2 separate regions of the Homo sapiens genome follow, and region 2 is linked to region 1. The links are contacts of gene promoters, found by promoter capture Hi-C in human tissues and cell types (Jung and others, 2019). All regions are on one chromosome and are shown on one strand. The core of a region is centred on a gene start or on the middle of the fragment in contact, and the rest is flanking DNA. Distances in the headings are between cores, read along the strand shown. Region 1 holds the start of TTC27 (tetratricopeptide repeat domain 27). Region 2 overlaps LTBP1 (latent transforming growth factor beta binding protein 1).

Evidence for each region. The method cuts DNA at HindIII sites, captures the fragments that hold promoters and counts their contacts. A contact is called where the count stands out against the background at its distance.
Region 2: a contact is called between a fragment that was not itself captured here and the fragment with the promoter of TTC27 in region 1, in 1 of the 25 tissues and cell types used here (bladder).

Annotation. Positions count from the first base shown.
Region 1 is chr2:32,625,976-32,630,135 of GRCh38, forward strand. TTC27 (tetratricopeptide repeat domain 27) reads left to right here and starts at 2,075. Exons shown (of 20, transcript NM_017735.5): 1 at 2,075-2,405. The coding sequence starts at 2,318. LOC124905985 (a long non-coding RNA gene) reads right to left here and starts at 803. Exons shown (of 3, transcript XR_007086273.1): 1 at 658-803. RefSeq lists enhancers at 1,275-1,936, 1,655-1,714, 1,937-2,596, 2,125-2,184 and a silencer at 2,435-2,564. The HindIII fragment of the contact is 9,918 bases long and covers 1-4,160 here.
Region 2 is chr2:33,283,734-33,287,893 of GRCh38, forward strand. The region is part of intron 19 of LTBP1 (latent transforming growth factor beta binding protein 1); the gene reads left to right. It also overlaps the pseudogene RNA5SP91. Among named protein-coding and RNA genes, the nearest start is that of MIR4430, 130 kb to the right of the region's middle. The HindIII fragment of the contact is 5,171 bases long and covers 1-4,160 here.

The DNA of each region.
Region 1 (4,160 bases), core at 825-3,324:
AAGACTTTTAGATAGTGACATACAGGATCCCAATAGACTCGTCAGCCAAGGCATTCTATACTGAATCCTACAGTAGATATTTCATTGCCTGCTCAATTTCCACTCACTATGTACATATTTTTAATCGAGACCATATTCCCCACCTACTTTATTACTGGAATTCACTTTGCTTGAAGGGAGATTAGGCAGACTTCAGTCACCATCATCATCTAGCATACCACATTTAAAACAAACCAACCTTGAATTTAACTGAAAGTTGCAAGTTTACTATGTGGATTAACGGGGTGCTACATACAGGTGAGGAACTTTGGCAGAGCGGCCAGTGTGTTTTTACAGACGTTCATCTTTAACAATTATCAAATTAGTTTAGACAGTGCTGGCTTTTATACTTAAGGAAATGAACAGACAACCTGGTCAAGTATCATTTTCTAGAAAAATAGTGGGGTTTTTTTTGTTTGTTTATTTTTTTGAGACGGAGTCTCGCTCTGCTGCCCAGGCTGGAGTGCAGTGGCGCGATCTTGGCTCACTGCGACCTCCGCCTCCTGGGTTCAGGCCATTCTCCTGCGGCAGCCTCCTGAGCAGCTGGGACTACAGGCGCCCGCCACTACGCCCGGCTAATTTTTTAAAAAAATATTTTTAGTAGAGATGGGGTTTCACCTTGTTAGGCAGGATGGTCTCCATCTCCTGACCTCATGATCCGCCCGCCTCGGCCTCCCAAAGTGCTGAGATTACAGGCGTGAGCCACTGCGCCCGGCCTGAAAAACAGTTTTTAATTACTTCTCAGTGGGAGGACATTTTAGGGCATCCGCTCTTCTCCAATCACAGTCAGGTCCGGCTTCCTTTGGTATCTGATGGCAATGGCTGAAATGAGCTGAGCTGAGTTCCTCTCCCTTCACATTCTGGAGTGGCTCTTTACTGAGTAAGAAAGTGAATTAACATTTATTTAGCTTCTTCCTTGGAGCTGGGTACCGGGTCAGCCTCTTTTCAGAGAGCTTTTGCTCTTGTGGTCAGAGTTACCCTGCAGTTTTCTCCTGGCTCTTACATGACATATCTCAGTACAGGTGTCAAGCCAATGGGACAAAGCCATAGTCCTGTTTTCCTTCCCTCCTTCCCTCCCTCCCTCCCTTCCTTCCTTCTTCCCTCCCTCCCTCCCTCTTTCCTATTGCCCAGGCTGGAGTGCAGTGGCACCATCTCAGCTCACTGAAACCTCCGCCTCCCGGGTTCAAGCAATTCCCCCGCCTCACCGTCCCGAGTAGCTGGGTTTACAGGGGTGCCCCACTACGTCCGGCTAATTTTTGTATTTTTAGTAGAGACGGGTTTCACCATATTGGCCAGGCTGGTCTCGAACTCCTGACCTCAGGTGATCCATCCGCTTCATCCTCCCAAAGTGCTGAGATTACAGGCGTGAGCTACCGCGCCCGCCCTCTAACTGTTTCTTTGGAGTGCTGCTAGGAAGATTCAAAGAAGTGCAAATAAGGTACCAGCGGAGGCTGGTTTGTCTCCTTGCAATTTCTTTGTGATCACCCCTGGGATCACTCTTCTACAGCGTTCCGACAGTGTTCCAAAAACTTCCCTGCACCAGCGGCAGGGGCAGATTTCCCACCCGGCCATGATTCATGTAGAGCAGTGTCAAAACCAGATCCTTTCCTTACACGCTCATTCGCCGAAAGACCCATGCTATGCTGACGGGGTTCCAACCTGGGCTTCACCGACTCCACGTCAGAGGGTCTGTGATTCCCTGAGAGGGTACCCTTAGGCTGAGAGCAAGGGCCCACCTGCACTCTGCGCGAAGGACTGTGGTTTTCATCGGGTTGTCGAGAGCGTTCTAACCCAAAATGCTTTAAGAATCACAACTCTAGCCCTTCTAATCAAACTGCTTTGGCCAAGACGTCCGTTTTGAGTTGCATTTGAACCCTAGCCCTCGGTGGGAGGCACACTCACTTCCACGTTCACAGTTCTTGGAAGCGGTCCCACTGGGGGCGGGGCTGAGCGCGACCGCGCCCTCAACTCCCCCTATTGCCCGCCCCGGGGTGGGGCATAACCACCCAACAGGCTCCTTACTCAAGCTCGGGTTCTTCTCCTAGGCGGAAGCCAGACCAGAGAGCGTGCGTGTTTTTCCCAGGGTGCCCCGCGCTGCTGTTATGGCCGCCTCCTTGAGGTAGTATCCGCACATGGAATTCTAGGGCCGCAGGTGTATTTACGGTAACTGTCGCCACTAGATTTCAGCGCCTTTGGACTCTCCTGTTTTCACTTTCTTTTGTTGACTCCCGTGTGGCCCTCGTGGGAGCCTGTTTTGGCTGCAGCGGTGTCTGGGGTGATGTGGACCCCGGAGCTGGCAATTCTGAGGGGATTCCCCACTGAGGCTGAGCGGCAGCAATGGAAACAGGAGGGGGTCGTCGGTTCAGGTGAGAGGCGCACCTACCGGGCCTTAGGCTATCGTGGGAACTGTGAGGAAAAGGGATGGCAGCGACTGATTCTCATCCCTCCCTTCATTTTTCCCTAACACAGTCTAGCTGATTCCTTGAGGCTTTGGGTCGTTTAGTCTTTGACATGGTGGGCGTGGTCCTCACTTTCTTTGCGCAAAACTTCTTACCGCCCAGGTTCAGTAATAATGACAATGGCAATGTCAGTTATTTTTCTAAGCCCTTAACATGTACTCAGTCATTTAATGCTTATAGTAGATACTTAAGGTAGATTCAATTTTTAATCCCATTTTGCGGTGAAGATCTGTAAATACAGTTGGGTTAAGTAATTTTATTTTATCTATTTATTTATTTATTTATTTATTTATTTATTTATTTATTGAGACGGAGTTTTGCTTTTTGCCCAGGCTGGAGTGCAATGGCGCGATCTCGGCTCGCTGCAACCTCCGCCTCCCGGGTTCAAGTGATTCTCCTGCCTCAGCCTCCAGGGTAGCTGGGATTACAGGCATGCGCCACCACGCCCGGCTAATTTTGTATTTTTAGTAGAGTCGAGGTTTCACCATGTTGGCCTAGCTGGTCTGGAACTCCTGACCTCAGATGATTCGCCTGCCTCAGCCTCCCAAAGTGCTGGGATTACAGGCCTGAGCCACCGCGCCCGGGTCTGGTTAAGTAATTTATTTAAGGTCACACTGTTGGTAAGCAGAGGAGCTAAAATGAGGCAGCAAAGTTGTTTTTTTGGGGGGATGGAGTCTCCCTCTTGTTGCTCTGGCTGGAGTGCACTGGTGCCATCTCGGCTCACTGCAACCTCCGCTTCCCCGGTTCAAGCGATTCTCCTGCTTCAGCCTCCAAAGTAGCTGGGACTACAGGCATGCACCACCATGCCCGGCTAATTTTGTGTTTTTAGTAGAGACGGCTTTCATCATGTTGGTCAGGCTGGTCTGGAACTCCTGACCTCAGGTGATCCACCCGCCTCGGCCTCCCAAAGTGCTGGGATTACAGCCATGAGCCACCATGCACGGCCTAGGCGGCAATGATTTATTTTTTTTATTTTTTTGAGACAGAGTCTCGCTCTGTCGCCTAGGCTGGAGTGCAGTGGCGCGATCTCGGCTCACTGCAAGCTCCACCTCCCGGGTTCACGCCATTCTCCTGCCTCAGCCTCCCGAGTAGCTGGGACTAAAGGCGCCTGCCACCACGACCAGCTAATTTTTTTTTTTGTATTTTTAGTAGAGACGGGGTTTCACCGTGTTAGCCAGGATGGTCTCGATCTCCTGACGTCGTGATCCACCCACCTCGGCCTCCCAAAGTGCTGGGATTACAGGCATGAGCCACCGCGCCCAGCCTAGGAGGCAAAGATTAATTCTTGTGAGCAATGAATATTTACCAGAGAGATAAAGAGTTAAAAGGCACATGCACTGGCACATCTGGTTGTGGGATTTAGGCTGGACCCAAAAGAGTAATAATGAACAGTGTAGTGTGTAAGTACTCTGTGTGTATGTGTGTGTGTGTGGGCACTTGTGTGACACAGTAGGTGCTTCCAGTGACAGGAAGTTTGAACTTTGGTGGCCTGGAAAACTTTCCTAGAAGAAGTTAGACTTGAGCTGATTTTGGATTAAAGGGTAAGACTAACAAGTGGAGAAGAGTTCAACAGGCGATATCACAAGTGCAAAGTGTGGAGGCAGGAATACGCATGGGACATTAGGGAAACAATGAGTAAACCAGCGCTCTTGGAGTGACTTT
Region 2 (4,160 bases), core at 801-3,300, 660 kb after region 1:
TCATTAAAAAGTTTCCTGCAATCACACCATTTTGGTGAAAAATCCTACATTTGTCATTTGTTAGTTGCCATCTGTAGAGATGATAATGTCTATCTCACAGGGCTGCCGTGTTCCATAAATGTTAGTGTCTTTTTTTCTAACTCTCCTCTCACTGAGTACATGTTTTTACATTGTTATAATCAAACATGTACAATGTTTTATATAACATTTCTTAAATTTCACATTATGCTTATAGTTTTTTTTCTAAACTGGTCTATCTTCACGTTGATTTGACTCTCTTTCTATTGAATGACTTCATTAAGCATTGCTATTCAACCCCTATATTCTGCAGGGATTTTATACCAGTTACACTTTCTGCTTCTTTCACAGACTAAATGATGAACTTGGTGAAACCGTTAATGGCCTCTTTGTATTCATGACATGTAAGCTGGATCTTACTGATTGATGCTTCTCCTTGATTTATAAATTAGAGCAGAAATTGTTTTGGGCAGAAATAGGCAAAATGTTAGCAGGTGTTTTCTGAGGGACTACATTTTTTCCCTAGTGTTTAGCTCAGGTCATACAATCCCTCATCCTCAATAGTTTATTATCCACTTCAAATATCTATCATTTCAGACTGTACCTAACACACATCATCCCTAATGCTTTTTGGCAACTCTTGTTGGCTCTTCTGTTAACGTAGCTTCTTCTTTCAAGTCGTGGATTTCATTCTTCTCTAGAGAGTCACGTTCGTCATTCGGCACTGTATTCCTTGGACCTGACATTCAGCCTGGAGTTGCTGCCCACTCGATCCCCACCTTTAATGACTATTTCATCACTCTGGGTTCTGGCCAGTTCCAAATGGCTATTTCAACCAAGTCCTTTCTTAAGGGAAGCCACCCTGTCAGGTACTCAATTTACAGGTTCTTCTTGGCTTGTGGAGATCTGGCCTGATTGAAACCCGATGAGAGCCATCCCCCAAGGAAACTCTCTAATATTTAATTATTTAAAGATACATTTGATATTGCTAATGTAGAGATCTTAGTTCCCTGAATTTAGACAGAGTTTGGGCTACATGACCTCTCTGAAGCTTAGTTTTATTATCTGTAAAATGGGGATTGAAATACTTGCTGTTTAAGCTTTCTTGCCAGAATGAAGTAAGCAATATGAAGCACCTAGTAGGCATCTGACATATGGTGGAACCCCATCCATGCTACAACCCTTTTTCCCCAACTATTACCCTCCTCTATACTGCTCTTGTCCTCAAACATAAGAGATGCAGTAATAACTGGTACTTGGTAAAGTAAGTTATGTATCACATTCTTTTTTTTTTTTTTTTTTTTTCTGAGATGGAGTCTCACTCTTGTCGCCCAGGCTGGAGTGCAATGGCGTGATCTCGGCTCACTGCAACCTCCGCCTCCAGGGTTCAAGTGATTCTCCTGCGTCAGCCTCCCGAGTAGCTGGGATTACAGGTGCCCGCCACCACGCTTGGCTAATTTTTGTATTTTTAGTAGAGATGGGGTTTCACCATGTTGGCCAGGCTAGCCTCGAACTCCTGACCTCAGGTGATCCACCCATCTCAGTCCCCGAAAGTGCTGGGATTACAGGGGTAAGCCACCGTGCCCGGGTCACATTCTTCTATATAACTATATTCTCTTTGGCTTTTTGAAGCTCATGTCATATAGTTTTTTAATTCTTCTTATGTCATTGGAGCATTCTCTTTTCTTTCTTTCTTTTTCTTTTTTTTTTTTTTTGAGACGGAGTCTCCCTCTGTTGCCCAGGCTGGAGTGCAATGGCGCGATCTCGGCTCACTGCAACCTCCACCTCCCGGGTTCAAGCAGTTCTCCTGCCTCAGTCTCCTGAGTTGCTGGGATTACAGCTGCATGCCATTATGCCCGGCTAATTTTTGTATTTTTAGTAGAGGTGGGGTTTCACCATGTTGGTCAGGCTGTTCTAGAACTCCTGACCTTGTGATCCACCTTCCTCAGACTCCCAAAGTGCTGGGATTACAGGCGTGAGCCACCGCACCTGGCCTTTTGGAGCATTCTTTTATGAATGTAAATAATTTTGTGGTTCCTGTTCAATATCTCCCATCCAAATACTAACTGGGCCCACCCTGCTTAGCTTCCAAGGTCAGACTAGATCGGGCACGTTCAGGGTGATATGTCTGTTGACTCCTTCCAACTTCTTAGTGTTCTTACTTAGCTGGAATATACTTCTTGGGAGCCATGATACTTCTCTGTAGGGTCATTAGTGATTCCTAACAAATGTTCAGGCATCTATAATAATGCTGCTATTTCCATTCCTGTACTTTATTGTCTCTGCTCACCTTCACAAGGCAGAATATGCCACCTATTGGATATATGCAGCTAGCCTTTTGGGGGTTGTCTTGCTTTGTAGTTCAGTTTGTGATAGAACTTGAGACCCGGTAACACAAAATTCTGAGATTTTGTCAGTGTAATCTTTCTTTTTTAACCCCTGATTAAGTTGAGAATGACTTTCTGACTCCCATTTAAACTCTGTGAATGTAGGTCTTGGGTATTTGAAGAATTTAGTATCATTCAGTCTACTTGACAACTGATTAGCTACAGTCTTAACCAAGACCTGGCACAGAGAACTTGAAGAATAAACTTGGACAGAAAACATGGAGAACTCATTGTTCTAGAAGTTCTTTTCACACTAGGCTTTATTTTCAGATTTGAAGATTCAGTGTTAACTTTCATGGCTTATATGAATATTCATAGACTAATCCAAAATTGAAGACTTGGTACAGCAGATATTTGTTTTATAGAAGATTGCAACTGAGTACAGCATGTACCTTTTTCATATTTTATGTGCAAACATTAGCTTTATCCCTACATTATTATATGCTAAAGGATGCTTCTAATCAATCACTAAGCTATTTATTGAGCTGTTGTCTGTGTATCTATATGCCAGAGAAGATTGGCAGTTATAAAAACACCCACCCAAATGTCCAACAATGATAGACTGGATTAAGAAAACGTGGCACGTATACACCATGGAATACTATGCAGCCATAAAAAAATGATGAGTTCATGTCCTTTGTAGGGACAGGGATGAAGCTGGAAACCATCATTCTCAGCAAACTATCGCAAGGACAAAAAACCAAACACCGCATGTTCTCACTCATAGGTGGGAATTGAACAATGAGAACACATGGACACAGGAAGGGGAACATCACACACCAGGACCTGTTGTGGGGTGAGGGGAGGGGGAAGAGATAGCATTAGGAGATATACCTAATGTTAAATGAAGAGTTAATGGGTGCAGCACACCAACATGGCACATGTATACATATGTAACAAACCTGCACGTTGTGCACATGTACCCTAAAACTTAAAAGTATAATAAAAATAAAATAAAAACAACAACAACAACAACAACAACAACTTTTGAAAGCAGGCAGCATGGTTTGTGGGAACATTAATTATTATAACAAAATCCTTCTCATTGTATAGTTTATGAAGGTTTTGACATGATGGCATCATTTGATCCTCACAGTAGTCATCTCTGTAGTACAAGTGTGGAAATTGATTCCCAAACAAGTGAATGGGCTAACTAAAGGTTATAGGTAATAAATGTCAGAACTAGGATGTGACCTCTGATCTTTTATCTCTAAATCCAGTGTTTTGTTCTGTACAATGTCTCATGTACCCTTCGTGTACACGTAAGAAAACTAAAGAACAAAACAATATAATGAAGACAATAAGGAAAATAAAAGAGCATAGAAAGGAGAAAGCCACATGGGCTGGAATCATCCCTTGCAAGCAGCAGTAACAATGGCTTGAGGATTCTAGAGTTTGAGACAGCAAGTCTGCACCATATGTAGTGGCAGTTGAGTTTTGCTGAAAGATAAAATGCTCCTTTGGAAAGGTGAGGTAGGAAGCCAATAATTTGGTGGGATTAGTGATTGGATTTTTCTGAGATCATCCTTGGCTCTTTATGTAGGATGTGCATAGCATTCATTGGTTCTTCTCCAGTTCTGCAAAGCCGTGATGATTCTTTGAGGATTATGTAACAAATGTTTGTCAGCAGCTCTGCTGCTACTACCACATATTTTAACTTCATCAGAATTGACAGAGGGGGTGTGAGATTCTGAGGATCTACTATACCTCAAATGCAGTTGAGGTGGTTTCATCACACTGGCTGGACCAACATCT